Linked DNA regions of Homo sapiens: region 2 is linked to region 1. Evidence: promoter capture Hi-C in human tissues and cell types (Jung and others, 2019). All regions are on one chromosome and are shown on one strand. The core of a region is centred on a gene start or on the middle of the fragment in contact, and the rest is flanking DNA. Distances in the headings are between cores, read along the strand shown. Region 1 holds the start of KRT32 (keratin 32). Region 2 overlaps LOC105371775 (a long non-coding RNA gene).

What was found. Contacts are between HindIII fragments. The study calls those that stand out against the background at their distance.
Region 2: a contact is called between a fragment that was not itself captured here and the fragment with the promoter of KRT32 in region 1, in 1 of the 25 tissues and cell types used here (lymphoblastoid cells).

Annotation. Positions count from the first base shown.
Region 1 is chr17:41,466,064-41,473,510 of GRCh38, reverse strand. It overlaps KRT32 (keratin 32), which reads left to right and starts at 6,125. Exons shown (of 7, transcript NM_002278.3): 1 at 6,125-6,653; 2 at 7,335-7,417. The coding sequence starts at 6,186. It also overlaps the pseudogene RNU2-32P. The HindIII fragment of the contact is 5,955 bases long and covers 5,472-7,447 here.
Region 2 is chr17:40,678,873-40,686,319 of GRCh38, reverse strand. The region is part of intron 1 of LOC105371775 (a long non-coding RNA gene); the gene reads right to left. Among named protein-coding and RNA genes, the nearest start is that of KRT222, 17 kb to the right of the region's middle. The HindIII fragment of the contact is 3,576 bases long and covers 2,249-5,824 here.

The DNA of each region.
Region 1 (7,447 bases), core at 4,876-7,375:
GGACTACAGGTGCTCGCCACCAAGCCCAGCTAATTTTTTTGCATTTTTAGTAGAGACGGGGTTTCACCGTGTTAGCCAGGATGGTCTTGATCTCCTGACCTCGTGATCTGCCCGCCTGGGCATCCCAAAGTGCTGGGATTATAGGTGTGAGCCACTGCACCTGGCCTCAATCTGCTTTTATATGAAACCTGGTCTTTCCTTCACAACGGAAAACTCTGCTCACGCTGGCATTTGGGACTGCACCTCACAGCGACAGCCTCTCAGCATCATCCTGGAGCCCCTGCTCCTGGTTCCTGTCTCTCTCCTCCTCATTCCTTCCTTCCAGGATTGTCCTGTGAACTTCAAATCCTTCTCTCCTTTCACCCTCTGATGTCTTACCAGCCAAATCAAGGCATTAGGGTCCCACCTTTTAACCCAAGATCTTCTTAATGTAGTTTCCCAAGTAAAGACATTTTTTTTCCTGCAAGATGAATTCTGGTGACAGCTGTTAAAATATATGCAGGCACACTTCGATTTATTGAGTTTCAATTTATTATACTTCCCAGATATCGTTTTTTTTTCTTTTTTCTTTCTTTTTTTTTTTTTTTTTTTACAAATTAAAGTTTTGTGCCAATCCTGCCTAGAGCAAGTCTGTTGGTGCTAATTTTTCCAACAGCATGTGCTTATGTGTCTCTGTGTCACATTTTGGTAATTCTCACAATACAAATTTTTTCTTTTTCTTTTTTTTTGAGACAGAATCTGGCTGTCTGCCCAGGCTGGAGTGCAGTGGCGTGATCTCGGCTCACTGCAACCTCTGCCTCCTGGGTTCAAGCAATTCTCGTGCCTCAGCCTCCCAAGTAGCTGGGATTACAGGCACACCACGCCTGGCTAATTTTTGTAATTTCAGTAGAGATGGGGTTTCGTCATGTTGGCCAGGCTGGTCTCGAACTCTTGACCTCAAGTGATCTGCCCACCTCAGCCTCCCAAAGTGCTGGGATTACAGGTGTGAGCCACTGCGGCTGGCCAAACTTTTTCATTATTGTATGTGTTATGGTGATCTGTGGTCAGTAATCTTTGATATTACTGTTGTAATTGTTCTGGGATGCACCAAACCATGCCCAGATAAGATGGGGAACCTAACTGATAAACGTTGCGTGCGTTCTGATGGCTCCACCAACTGGCCATTCCCCCATCTCTCTCCCTATTTTGGGTCTACCTATTTTCTGAGACACAGCAATATTGAAATTAGGCCAATTAATAACCCTACCGTGGCTTCTAAGAGTTCAAGTGAAAGGAAAAGTTGCAGGTTTCTCCCTTTAAATAAAAAGCTAGAAATGATGAAGTTTAGGGAGGCGGCATCTTTCATAGCTAGACAGGAGGAGTCTGCCTTCAAAACCTTCAAAGGATGGGCTGACTCTCTTGCTAGGAGCTAATGCAGCTGATGACTTCAAGTGGGAAGTCAATGCTCATTTACCATTCTGAATATCCTAGGGCACTTAAGAATGATGCTAAATCTTTTCTGCCTGTGCACTACAAACGGAACGACAAAGCCTGGACGACAGTGCATCTGTTTATAACATGGTTTACTGAATATTTTAAGCCCACTGTTGAGACCTACTGCTTAGAATAAAAGGTTTCTTTCAAAATATTTCTGCTCATTGACAATGCATCTGATCACCCAAGAGCCCTGATGGAGCTGTCCAAGGAGATTAATGTTTTTGTGTTTGCCAACACAACATCCATTCCACAGCCCATGGATCAAAAACTAATTTTGACTTTCAAGTCTTATTACCTAAGAAATATATTTCATAAGGCTATAGCTGCCATACAGAGTGATTCCTCTGATGGATCTGGGCAAAGTAAATTGAAAACCTTCTGAAGAGGATTCACTATTCTATATGTCAATATTTGTGATTCAAGAGAGGAGGTCAAAATATCAACATTAACAGGAGTTTGGAAGAAGTTGATTCCAACTCTCATGTATGATGTTGAGGGGCTTAAGACTTCAGCAGAGGAAGTAACTATAGATGTGTTGGAAACAGCAAGAGAATTAAAATTAGAATTGGAGCCTGAAGATGTGACTGAATTGTTGCCATGTTATGGCAAAACGAACGGATGAGGAACTGCTTCTTATTCATGAACAAAGAAAGTGGTTTCTTGAGATGGAAACTACTCCTGGTGAAGATGCTGTGAACATCACTGAAATGGCAACAAAGGATTTGGAATACTACATCAATTTAGTTAATAAGGCAGTGGCAGGGTTTGAGAGGACTGACCCTAGTTTTGAAAGAATTTCTACTGTTAAAATGCTATCAAACAGCATCACATGCTACAGGGAAATCTTTCATGAAAGGAAGAGTCAACTGATGCGGCAAACTTCACTGATGTCTCATTTTCAGAAATTGCCACAGCCACACTAACTTGCAGCAATCATCACCCTGATCAGTCCTCAGCCATCAACATTGAGGCAAGACCTTCCACCAGCAAAAAGATTATAACTTGCTGAAGGCTCAGATGATCCTTAGCATTTTTAGCAATAAAGCATTTTTAAAATTAAGTTATATACATTGTTTTTAGGCCATAATGCTATGGTACACTTAATAGACTATAGTATAGTGTAAATATAATGTTTACATACACAGAAAAACCAAAAAGTTTGTGTGACTCACTTTATGGTTACATTTGCTTTATTGTGGTGGTCTAGAACTGAACATGCACTATCTCTGAGGTATGCCTGTATCTTCCTCTATCTCAGTGGGTCTCCAAACCACCTGAAGGACATGCTAAACACAGGCTGCTGCATCCCAGCCCCAGCCTCAGAGTTTCTGATTCAGCCAGTCTGGGATGAGCCTGAAAAACTGCATTTCTTTTTTTTTTACATTTTATTTTTATTTTTATCAAAGCAGTGTATCTACATTGTTTAAATAAAACAACATTAAATAGCAAATATTTAAAAACTGCAACATCTATGCCTTCTTTCTTTCTTTATTGTTATTATACTTTAAGTTTTAGGGTACATGTGCACAATGTGCAGGTTAGTTACATATGTATACATGTGCCATGCTGGTGTGCTGCACCCACTAACTCGTCATCTAGCATTAGGTATATCTCCCAATGCTATCTCTCCCCCGTCCCCCCACCCCACAACAAATGAGAACACATGGACACAGGAAGGGGAACATCACACTCTTTTTTTTAAAAATTTTACTTTAAGTTCTGGGATGCATTTGCAGAATGTGCAGGTTTGTTGCATAGGTATACATGTGCCATGGTGGTTTGCTGCACCTATCAACCCATCATCTAGGTTTTAAGCCCCGCATGCATTAGGTATTTGTTCTAATGCTCTCTCTCCCCTTGCCCCCCATCCCCCGACAGGCCCTGGTGTGTGATGTTCCCCTCCCTGTGTCCATGTGTTCTCATTGTTCAACTCCCACTTATGAGTGAGAACATGTGGTGTTCGGTTTTCTGTTCCTGTGTTGGTTTGCTAAGAATGATGGTTTCCAGCTTCATCCATGTCCCTGCAAAAGACACGAACTCATTCTTTTTTATGGCTGCATAGTATTTCATGGTATATATGTGCCACATTTTCTTTATCCAGTCTGTCATTGATGGGCATTTGGGTTGGTTCCAAGTCTTTGCTATTGTAAATAGTGCTGCAATAAACATACTTGTGCATGTGTCTTTATAGTAGAAAGATTTATAATCCTTTGGGTATATACCCAGTAATGGGATTGCTGGGTCAAATGGTATTTCTGGTTTTAGATCATTGAGGAATCACCATGCTGTCTTCCACAATGGTTGAACTAATTTACACTCCCACCAACAGTGTAAAAGCTTTCCCATTTCTCCACAGCCTTGCCAGCATCTGTTGTTACCAGACTTGTTAATGATCACCATTCTAACTGGCATGAGATGGTATCTCATTGTGGTTTTGATTTGCATTTCTCTAATGACCAGTGATGATGAGCTTTTTTTCATATGTTTCTTGGCCACATAAATGTCTTCTTTTGAGAAGTGCCTGTTCATATCCTTTGCCCACTTTTTGATGGGGTTGTTTGTTATTTTCTTGTAAATTTGTTTAAGCTCCTTGTAGATTCTGGATATTAGACCTTTGTCAGATGGGTAGATTGCAAAAATTTTCTCCAATTCTATAGGTTGCCTGCTGACTCTGATAACAGTTTCTTTTGCTGTGCAGAAGCTCTTTAGTTGAATTAGATCCCATTTGTCAACTTTGGCTTTTGTTGCAATTGCTTTTGCTGTTTTAGTCATGAAGTCTTTGCCCATGCCTATGTCCTGAATGGTATTGCCTAGACTTTCTTCTAGGGTGAAAACTCACATTTCTAACATGTTCCTGAGTCAGGTTGATGCTGAGAGTGACTGATAACACCTTATTATAATAATTATAGTTTTTGGGTGAGAGGATTAAATGGGCAAATTAATGCCAAGCACTCAGCACCATGCCTGGTATTTGTATACATTCCACAAGTGCTGGCTATGATTCTGAAGGGTGGCCTGATGAGTCTCATCCCTTGTAGTTGGTATTGCCATCACACCTCCTTCCATCTGATGCTATAATCTTCTCTAAATAGGTAATCCAGACAAGGTACTGGAATTTGTAGTTGTTGCAGAGAATCAAATTGTGAGAGTATTTGATCTGACCCCCTCGATTGGCATGAAGAAACTGAGGTCTGGAGAGACAAAATTACTTTCCCAAGGCCAAATGGCAAGTCAGAGGCAGTATATCTACGCTCTCCTTTTCTTATGCAATGAATGAGCTGGGTGGCATTTTCCCTTTCCTGTTCTTGTACTGACATTTCTGGGAATATGTGAAACATAAGGCAAGTACTTATACCCCAAAATTATATCAAGAAGATTACTGAATAAAAAAGTGGCTATATAGCACACACATACTAAATGTGAAGCTCACAGCTTTTGCAGCCAGGACTGAAAACCACTGCTCTAGCATGTTGCCTTCTTAAGTGAATGCCCAGGGCTTCTATAGTTGGGCAAATATGCTCCCTGTCTCCTGGCTTAGCTCATTCCAGGGCTATAGAACATCCTTTCCCAAGGGAGTGGATTCACACTGCTTCCATAGTCTGAGATCCTGAAGTGAGCCTTCCCCATCTGCCACAACAGAAAGTAAAAGTAGAACCTGTTCCAACTATTCTCAGTCTGTTCAACAAACAATTATTGAGCACTTGACAATTGTGTATATGGTGCAGTGATAATTGAATGGATGGTCCAGAGGGGGTCAAGACAGAGCAGCTGCCACCTGGAGATGTTCATGATATGGACTTTTCCAAGAGGAAGAGACCAACTGGAAAGATGTACCTGATTCTTAGGCTTCTGTTTGGGTCTTTTTTTTTTTTTTTTTTTTGCCTTTTGAAGGGGTGCAGCATTCCTGGAGGTACTGCAATACCAGGTCAACATGTAGAGTGAACAGAGCAAGCTCTTATTCCATCTCCCTGCTCCCAAAATCCATTTAATATGTTGTCCTCAGATGGAGGACGTATCAGATATTAAGACGATAAGAACAGATACCACACTTGATCTTAGCCAAAAGGCTGAGAAGTGATGCTGCCTATGTCTTGAGTTCATTCTCTCCCCACTGATATTATTTTCTTCCCCTTGGCAGGAAGATGATGTCTGTTAGGAAGCCTCTGAGGTTCCTGTTCCTTTCTGCTGGATTTATGCCGCTGCCAGCATCGGAGCAGTTTCTACCACCCACACATTTCCTTGTTAAATAGCCAGGCCTCTTCCCATGGGGAATGCTTTCATTAAAAGAGGCAGCCACTGCTGCACAGACCTGCAGGCTTCTCAGGGCTAGAGCAGGCGGGGGTGCAGTGGGCAAAGCCAGTGGAGGCACAGGCTGGGTTGTGGCAGTCTCCTGGAGGGCCTGCCCTAGTAATGAGGGCCCAGGCATGCGGCTGACCCTTTGAAGATGTGTCCTGAAGCTCTCTCATGGTGATCAATGACAGGAACCCAGACTCCTGCTTTAGCCAAATGATAAGTTTGGCCTCTTTTATTGGAAACCAAATTACAAATTAATTAGCAGCTTCCTCTGGGGCTGGGTGTGAACATCAACACCACCCAATGATGAATTTCTATCATGAGCCCCCTCACTGCAAGGGCATAAAATGGCCCGGGCGGCATGGGGTCTGTAGACATCCAGGTAGCTGTGGCTGAGGAGAAAGGGCCTCTCCAACATGACATCCTCCTGCTGTGTCACCAACAACTTGCAAGCCTCTCTCAAGAGCTGCCCCCGGCCTGCCTCGGTCTGTTCCAGCGGCGTGAACTGCCGGCCTGAGCTGTGCCTGGGCTATGTCTGCCAGCCCATGGCATGCCTGCCTTCGGTCTGCCTGCCCACCACCTTCCGGCCAGCCAGCTGCCTCTCCAAAACCTATCTATCCAGTTCCTGCCAGGCAGCCAGTGGCATCTCCGGCTCCATGGGCCCCGGCAGCTGGTACAGCGAAGGGGCCTTCAATGGCAATGAGAAGGAAACCATGCAGTTCCTTAACGACCGCCTGGCCAGCTACCTGACGAGGGTGCGGCAGCTGGAGCAGGAGAATGCGGAGCTGGAGAGCAGGATCCAAGAGGCCTCTCACTCCCAGGTGCTCACCATGACTCCTGACTACCAGTCTCATTTCAGGACCATTGAGGAGCTCCAGCAGAAGGTGAGGGCAGCGGTGAGGTGAATAGGCTCTCTGGGAAGGGAACTGGACTAGCTGGCATTCCAGATTGGAATCTCGTTAGCTTATTAAGCTATGTTCAGGACAAAGAGACTTCCCTAGGGCATAGGGTTATTTTATAATTTGAGCACTCAGCCTGAGGCTTTCATGTGGAGAGATCTGGGATCTAGTCTCAGTTCTACCATTGCCTCATTGCATGACTTTGGGGGTCCCATCCCTTCCCCAGGCCTCAGTTTTCTCATCTGTAAAACAGGGATAATAATGGTCGTTATCTAATGGGGTTGTCAAAAGGATTTGATGAGATGATGCAGGTCAAGTGCTTGGAACAGCCCCTGGTCCACGGTAAGTTTTCAGTAAATGTCAAAGACCCTTCTAACTGTCACATGAGTGACTTCAGACATGAGATTCTTCCCTTCCACATTGCTTGGCACATCCAAAATGGGGAATTTGAATTTACGAAGCTTCAGGTTCTTAAAAAATACATCTCAAGTTCTCCAAGGACTAGCAATTCGCTAAATATCTCCCAGAGTTCCAGGGAAGAGGACCTTCTGCAGGGATGGCTGCAGGGCTGCTGGATCCTACCTTTGCTGCTGTCTTCTCTTCATTTGGGTTCTTCTTGCTTCGTCTCATCCTGAACTAACCCTCTCCATGTGCCTTGGCCTACAGATTCTGTGTACCAAGGCAGAGAATGCCAGGATGGTTGTGAACATTGATAATGCCAAACTGGCTGCCGATGACTTCAGGGCCAAGTGAGTTCAGTCGGGGGGCTGGAGCTGGGG
Region 2 (7,447 bases), core at 2,787-5,286, 790 kb after region 1:
AGGGCTCCTGGCTGAAAGCTTAAAAGAATTAATCTAGATAAAATTCCTGCGTATAGGTCAGCTAGGATTTCATTGAATATCAAGAAGTATATATGCTCCTTTTTAAGACGATTTAACATATTTAAACTTGAATAACAGGCTGGGCGCTGTGGCTCTCTTCTATAATCCCAGCACATTGGGAGGCCGAGGGAGGCAGATCACCTGAGGTCAGGAGTTCAAGAACAGCCTGGCCACCATGGCAAAACCCTGTCTCTACTAAAAATACAAAAATTACCCAGGCTTGGTGGTGATGCCTGTAATCCCAGCTACTTGGGAGGCTGAGGCAGGAAAATCACTTGAACCCAGGAGGTGGAGGTTGCAGTGAACTGAGATCGCGCCAATGCATCGCAGCCTGGGCAACAGGACAAGACTCTGTCTCAAAGAATAAATAAATAAATAAACAAACTTGAATAGCTATGTGTCACTTTTAAAATCAATTTTTCACTTAGGAGCATTCATGATAAGAATTTATTAAGTGTCCAATGTTTCAGGAGAAGCAAAATAGGAACAAGGATGGCAGCAGCATCTTTATCTTCTGGGAATTACACTTTAGCCATAGGGAAACTTTGATCAAACTAATAATACATAAGGAAGTTGCTGTATTTTTCATTGACTTGGTAGGCCTGAGTCTCAGTCTTAGGTTGTCTCAAAGCTCACCATGTAACCTTAGATAAGTCATTCCTCTAAAAGTATCTATCTCTAAGCCTCATTTTTTTCTGCAAAGCAAGGGAGTTGGTGATTACTAAGGTACTTATCGTCTAGCTCTAAAATCTATGACTCTGCAAATAGAAACTGTTTGAATTAAAAAAAAAATCAAAGTGGCAGAATTAATGTTACAGGGAATTAAAATTAGATCAGATTCACCCTAATTCAAGCAGTTTCCTGAAACTTTTGAAATGCCTAACATCCAAATGTCAGGTTTTAAGGCAGAGTGTCTCAACCTTGGCACTCTAGACATTTTTGGTTGGATAATTCTTGGGGAGCTGTCCTGTGGGTTTATGGAAGTTTATGGCCTCTACCTAGTAGGTACCAATAGTACACCCCCTACCCCTTATTATGTCAGCCAAAAATGTCTCCAAATATTGCCAAATGAGAGTGGAAGGGAGGCACAAAATCACCTGAAAATCACTGCTCTACCTTAAGAAAGCAGGATTTTCCTACACCATAGGGATGCACTAGGTACAGAAGACAGGCATCCTGAGATACTTTCCTTCCAGTTAAATCAAAACCTCGCCCTCTTAAAACACAGCATCTGCATAGAAGATTATCTCTGTTTTACTTGAAAGAGAAGAGGTTAGAAGATGAGACAGTAACATCCATCCAGTGTATATTCCCTTCCTGCAGAGAGAATAGGAAAACTTTCTGATGCTAATCTACCCAAATGACTCTTTATTTCATCTCTTCTCTTAGGCAATCTTCGCTCCACTCTCAGAAAACAGCCCTCAAAGCCAAGCTGATGGAATCAAAGGCCAAGCGCCAGCCTCAGGTAGAGGTTAGTGCCTGGAGACCCAGCTCCTTCAAGGGCATTGCAAGACCAAGGACCAGAGCCAGGCTAAATGCAGCTGCTGAAGGTCAAGGCGTGCCTGGTGAATGAAGCTGGGACCAACCACTGCCTGCTCACAGGGCTGAGCTGGTCTGCAAGAAGCTGTGGGTATGGTAAAGAAGGAGAGTAGTTAGGACTGGGGCACGTATAGGTCTCAATGACTCCTATTTACATTTTTAGCTAACCGCAACAAGGACATACAACCAGGGCTGAACAACCTCCACAGGGTTCATTCAGTAAGGATAATTTTTTTTTAATTTTTTGAGACAGAGTCTCACTCTGTCACCCAGGCTGGAGTGCAGTGGTGCGATCTCCGCTCACTGCAACCTCCACCTCCCGGTTCAAGTGATTCTTGTGCCTCAGCTTCCCAAGTAACTGGGACCAAAGGTGCGCACTACCACACACAGCTAATTTTTTGTATTTTTAGTAGAGGCAGGGTTCCGCCATGTTGGCCAGGCTGGTCTCGAACTCCTGACCTCAAGTGATCCACCCGCCTCGGCCTCCCAAAGTGCTGGGATTACAGGTGTGAGCCACCAGTAAGGACAATTTTCAATGCCCCATTCCAGCTCTAGGAAAGCAATGACCACGGCCTCGATTTATGAACCCAGCCCCTAGTCCATGCATTACCACCGGCTACAAGGTGCACCACAAATGTTTGCCCACCTGAATTGAAATTTAGGCAGAACTGTTGTTCTGCCAGACCGTCTGTGGAAACAAGTGTATTATATCCAACATATTAGATGATAAATAGTCATTTAGGGTGGTGTAATTCAAAAACAGAACGAATAAAACATAGAAAAAGCTAAAATTCAAAGACTTCAACATAGAGCTTTTTAAAAAAAAAAATCTCAGATATTACAATTTTTATGATACCTACAACAATCAAAACCAGAGTATAAGACTATCCTATTTTTCTTTTCAGTCATAAGTTTGAAACTGGATCAAAAAGAGGAAATAAAATCAAGGATAAGTTCTAAATACAAGTTTTCTATTATTCTATTTCATTTTCTTCAGAGGAACAGCGTACTCCAAAGTCTAAAAGTGTTGTTTTTATATGAATCCAATGTTTGTATTACCCAGTTAGAGTCATAAAATCAAGACTCTGGTTGTGGAATACTTTTACTGAGACATTTGTCAAAATAGCATTGTAATTTTTTTTCTTTCAACTTACACCTAAATAAACAGTAATAAATATCTTAGAAGCTATTGCTATATCACATTTAAATGGCTTTCCTTCAACATCGTTCACCTCAAAATCAAAAGGTGGAAATGCATTTTAATCCATATTTTCTTTGAAAGGTCAAAGGAGGTGAAGAAGGAAAGGAGATAGACTGAAGAAAGATGCATAATTGAAGACAAAAAGTTAATTAAACAAGAAGGTTTCAACTTGTAGGTTAGTTTAAGGCAGTGTTTTTCAAGCTGCAGGCTGCGATCCATTTACTTATGTATGTGTGTATGTATGTATGTATGTATGTATTTATTTTTGAGACAAGGTCTCACTCTGTCACCCAGGCTGGAGTGCAGTGGTGCAATCTCTGCTTACTGCAACCTCTGCCTCCGAGGTTCAAGCCATTCTCATGCCTCAGCCTCCCAAGAAGCTGGGATTACAGGTGTACTGGGCCATGATGTAAAATGATGCCTTTGTTCTTGTGGCTTGCAGTGGGAAAAGTTACAGCCTTTACTATAGAGTTTTCTTTATTTTTCCTTTCAGTTTTTACTTGAACTTAATTGTATGAAATGGATTGTGGGCCAAGCGTGGTGGCTCATGCCTGTAATCCCAGCACTTTGGGAGGCCAAGGCAGGTGGATCACCTGAGGTCAGGAGTTCGAGACCAGCCTAGCCAACATAGTGAAACCTCGTCTCTATTAAAAATACAAAAATTAGCTGGGCATGGTGGTGCATGCCTGTAATCCCAGCTACTCGGGAGGCTGAGGCAGGAGAATCACTTGAACTCTGGAGGAGGAGGTTGCAGTGAGCCGAGATCACACCACTGCACTCCAGCCTGAGTGACAGAGTGAGACTCCATTGAAAGAAAGAAAGAAAGAAAGAAAGAAAGAAAGAAAGAAAGAAAGAAAGAAAGAAAGAAAGAAAGAGAAAGGGATTGTGAATCTGTTTGCTATTGTTCTTGATGTCACTTCCTTCTCTATGACTGAGAATTCACTGGCATTCCTAGAAGAATTCAAACCCTTCATCGTTTGTTGAGCTAATTTCACTATGATTTCACCATATGCCACTTTCTTGCCTATATCATTGCAATGCCTCTCTACATAGGACTTGCTGTATTATAACAATGATAACAAAGACAACTACCATTTTTGGAGCACCCACTATGTAAACATAATTCCCACAGCAATTCTGTAGATGGGGCATGATCCCCATTGCATAGATGAGGAAACTGAAGTTCAGCGAGGTTAAATAGCTCACCCATGATCACAAAGCTCATCTGGGACAGAGTAAGCCAGGATCAAACCTTTTGAGGTTCCAAAATTCCAAGTGATAATCTCATTCCCATTTTTCATCCTCTCAACACTTTATGAAGTGAGTACTATTATTATCCCCAGTTTACAGATAAGGACACTATAATTTTCCCAAGTTATACAGTAACTTGGGAAGAGTTAGGATTCAAACCCTGAATCAAGCAGTATGTTCTTTTTCGTGTCTGGCTTCTTTCCCTCAACACGCCGTGTGCGCGATTCGTCTGTGCTACTGATGTGGTTGTAGATCATGTTATGCCTTTAATAAACACCTGTGTTAAGTGTTGGAGATACAAAGATGTGGTCCCTCTCTCGGAGAATTTACAGTCTAGAAGGAAAAATATATGCAAACATGTAGCTAACATAAAGTATTAACTACAATTCTGACTGAATTTTATCAAAGTCACTCCAAATTTGTGAAGCTTTAGAAAAGCAAAGATTAAAATCAATGAGATTTATATGCTTATCTTTCTCACTGTTGAAAGTAGGTAGAAAAGTTAATAAGTACCCAATACGAAAGCTGTCTTACTTTTGATTAAAGAGAAATGCTTTATCAATTTACTTTATTTCCATCAATATGTAATTGACCTAACACTTTCTTTTCGCAGAACCAACGAAATGTTTTGGCACAACACAATTGTTAAAGAACTGATTGATGGCATTGTTGTTTTATCACAAATAAGAGGTGTTCACCAAAGACCAGTTTAAGGAGCACCACACAAGCTAGCCACAAAAACTAAGACAAATAAAGCACCAAGAACCATTTAACCTTGGTCACGTATATTGGATAACTGAAGCAATGTATAGAGTGAAACTTTGCAAAAGCCATGAAGACAAGGGAATGTATTTCAACAATACTCATCTTTTTACACTAGGAAAAATAAAAGCCAGCAGGATATTTAGGGAATGTTTTTGCTCATCTTCAGTAATGTCATGTGAATGCACCCATCTACATTTTGGAATTTTTTAATCTTTGTGGACTTAACAAAAATGAGTACACTTCTAATTCAGAAGGTCTAACCTTGCAGTTTTTAGCTCTGGTCTGAAGCAATCAATTTGGGTCCAGTGCTTGGCTAAGCACTCCAGACTCCAGACAGTAAACAATAAGAGACAAATATTCCCTTCTAGAAGGTACAGCCCATCTGGAGATGTGGGAGATACTCTTGAAATAATTCAATGGCATCAGAATGTCACATAGAACTAAAAGTAGTAAGTAGCACAGATGATAAGTGCCTGGGAACTCACAGATAATAATTCAATATGGGCCAAAGAGGCCAGTAAAAAACTCATGAAGCTGTGAATTAAAGCTCCAATATTATAGCATTTTACACCCACCAGCAAGTGGAAATTAAAAAGACTATACCAAGTATTAACATGAACAGGAAGCAGCTGGGGCTGGGCACAGTGGCTCATGCCTGTAATGCCAACACTTTGGGAGGCCGAGGCAGGAGGCTCACTTGAGGTCAGGAGTTTGAGACCAACCTGGGCAATGTAGTGAGATCTCCTGGAGATCTCCTGGAGACTCTTAAGAGCTTCTTTGAGGAGTACAGACTCATCTTAAGGATCACAGGGAACTCTTGAAATCTTAGGCTTTGTAGTAATCTATCAGGGGTTGCAAAAGAAAATATGCAAGGGTTGCCTAAGAAAATTAATATGCATCTGTATGCCAGATGAATTGGAGTGGTAGGGATGGAAACTAGAGATGAAGTCAGAAGGTTACTTTAGCAATTTAACAATAAATTGAAATTTTTCTGGACTGAAATAATCCCAGGAGAAGTGAAAAATCTGGGAGACAAGATTTGGCTTATTAGACCTTAAAGAGCTAAGACAGTTTAAGCAAAATTTCTAAAATTTCAAGGTGGAATAAAAGTTGGAAAGTTGGCAGGAAGAGCAGAATTAGAAGAAAAGATGATATGGCAAGCTATAGGTATACTGAGTTTGATATAACAAAGGAACACCTAACTAGAAATATACAATAAAAAAAAATCAGGCCAGGTGTGGTGGTTCACGCCTGTAATCCCAGCACTTTGGGAGGCCGAGGTGGGTGGATTACTTGAAGTCAGGAGTTTGAGACCAGCCTGGCCAACATGGCAAAACCCTATCTCTACTGAAAATACAAAAATTAGCCCAGCATGGTGGGGCATGCCTGTAATCTCAGCTACTTGGGACGCTGAGGCAGGAGAATCACTTGAACCTGAGAGGCAGAGGTTACAGTGAGCTGAGATCACACCACTCCCCTCCAGACTGGGTGGCAGAGTGAGACTCCATATCAAAAAAACAAACAAACAAAAAAAAGAACAAATGGGCAATTACACTAAAAAAAAAAAAATATATATATATATATAGCATGAAAAACACGTCTTTATTTTAATGAAAATGTATTATTCATAGCAAAATTTCTATCCACATGACAAACATTTAGAATCAGAGTGCATTTCTAAAATCACTTTACAACTAATAAAACTCTAGAAATTCAGAACTATATATGATATTTTGAGGTGTTAATTATCTCAACCGAAGAACCACAACAGGGAAGTCCTTTCTATAAGTGAGTCACACAAAAAAAATACATACATGACATATTTAGACACAAATTATGCAGTTAAGTGTGTCTTGTAGATACCCTACTCAATTTAAAAACCATGTATTGATCATTTACAACATGCAAGTACAGTAATAAGGTAACATAGCTAAATTATCAGAGGTATCAAAGAAAAAGCACACAGTTGAAAAAGTGGTGAATTCTGGTTGTTGTTTGTTTGTTTCCTCAAGCTCTAAGATTGACACTTAGGATTTCTCAAAGACAACTGAAAATGTTTTCCTAATTCTGAAACAGTACTGACTTCAATGACCATCTCTTTTGAGGTATGAGGCACAGGAGGGAGGGGAACAGGGTTGAAAAACTAACTGTTGAGTACTATGCTCAGTACCTGGGTGATGGGATTACTTGTACCCCAACCCTCAGCATCACACAATATACCCTGGTAATAAACCTGCACATGGACTCCCCTGATTCTAAAATAAAAGTTGGAAAAAAATAAAAAAGGTATGAGTCACTCGTTTTGTGGCTACTTGCAGAAGTTTCAAAGATAATGATTTTCAAAGGTAACAAAGCTTGTGACACTGGTATGTCAGCATATCATCACATTTCATTTCTGAAGTCAGCAGTGAGAGATGGCGCCAAGCCACCAGTGAGAAGAGACGTTTGAAAAAAACAATTAAGAAGGAACTGAAGCTTGATGGATTAGCATAATGAATTTTTCTGAAGGCAACAGTGTGAAAAATATTTGTAAAGGTGTGGCAGAATCTGAAATCACGAATCATCTATTCTCACCCTGACAACAGTTTTCTTTTTCATATAGGCTGGACTAAATTTCGCGAAGTTCATTAA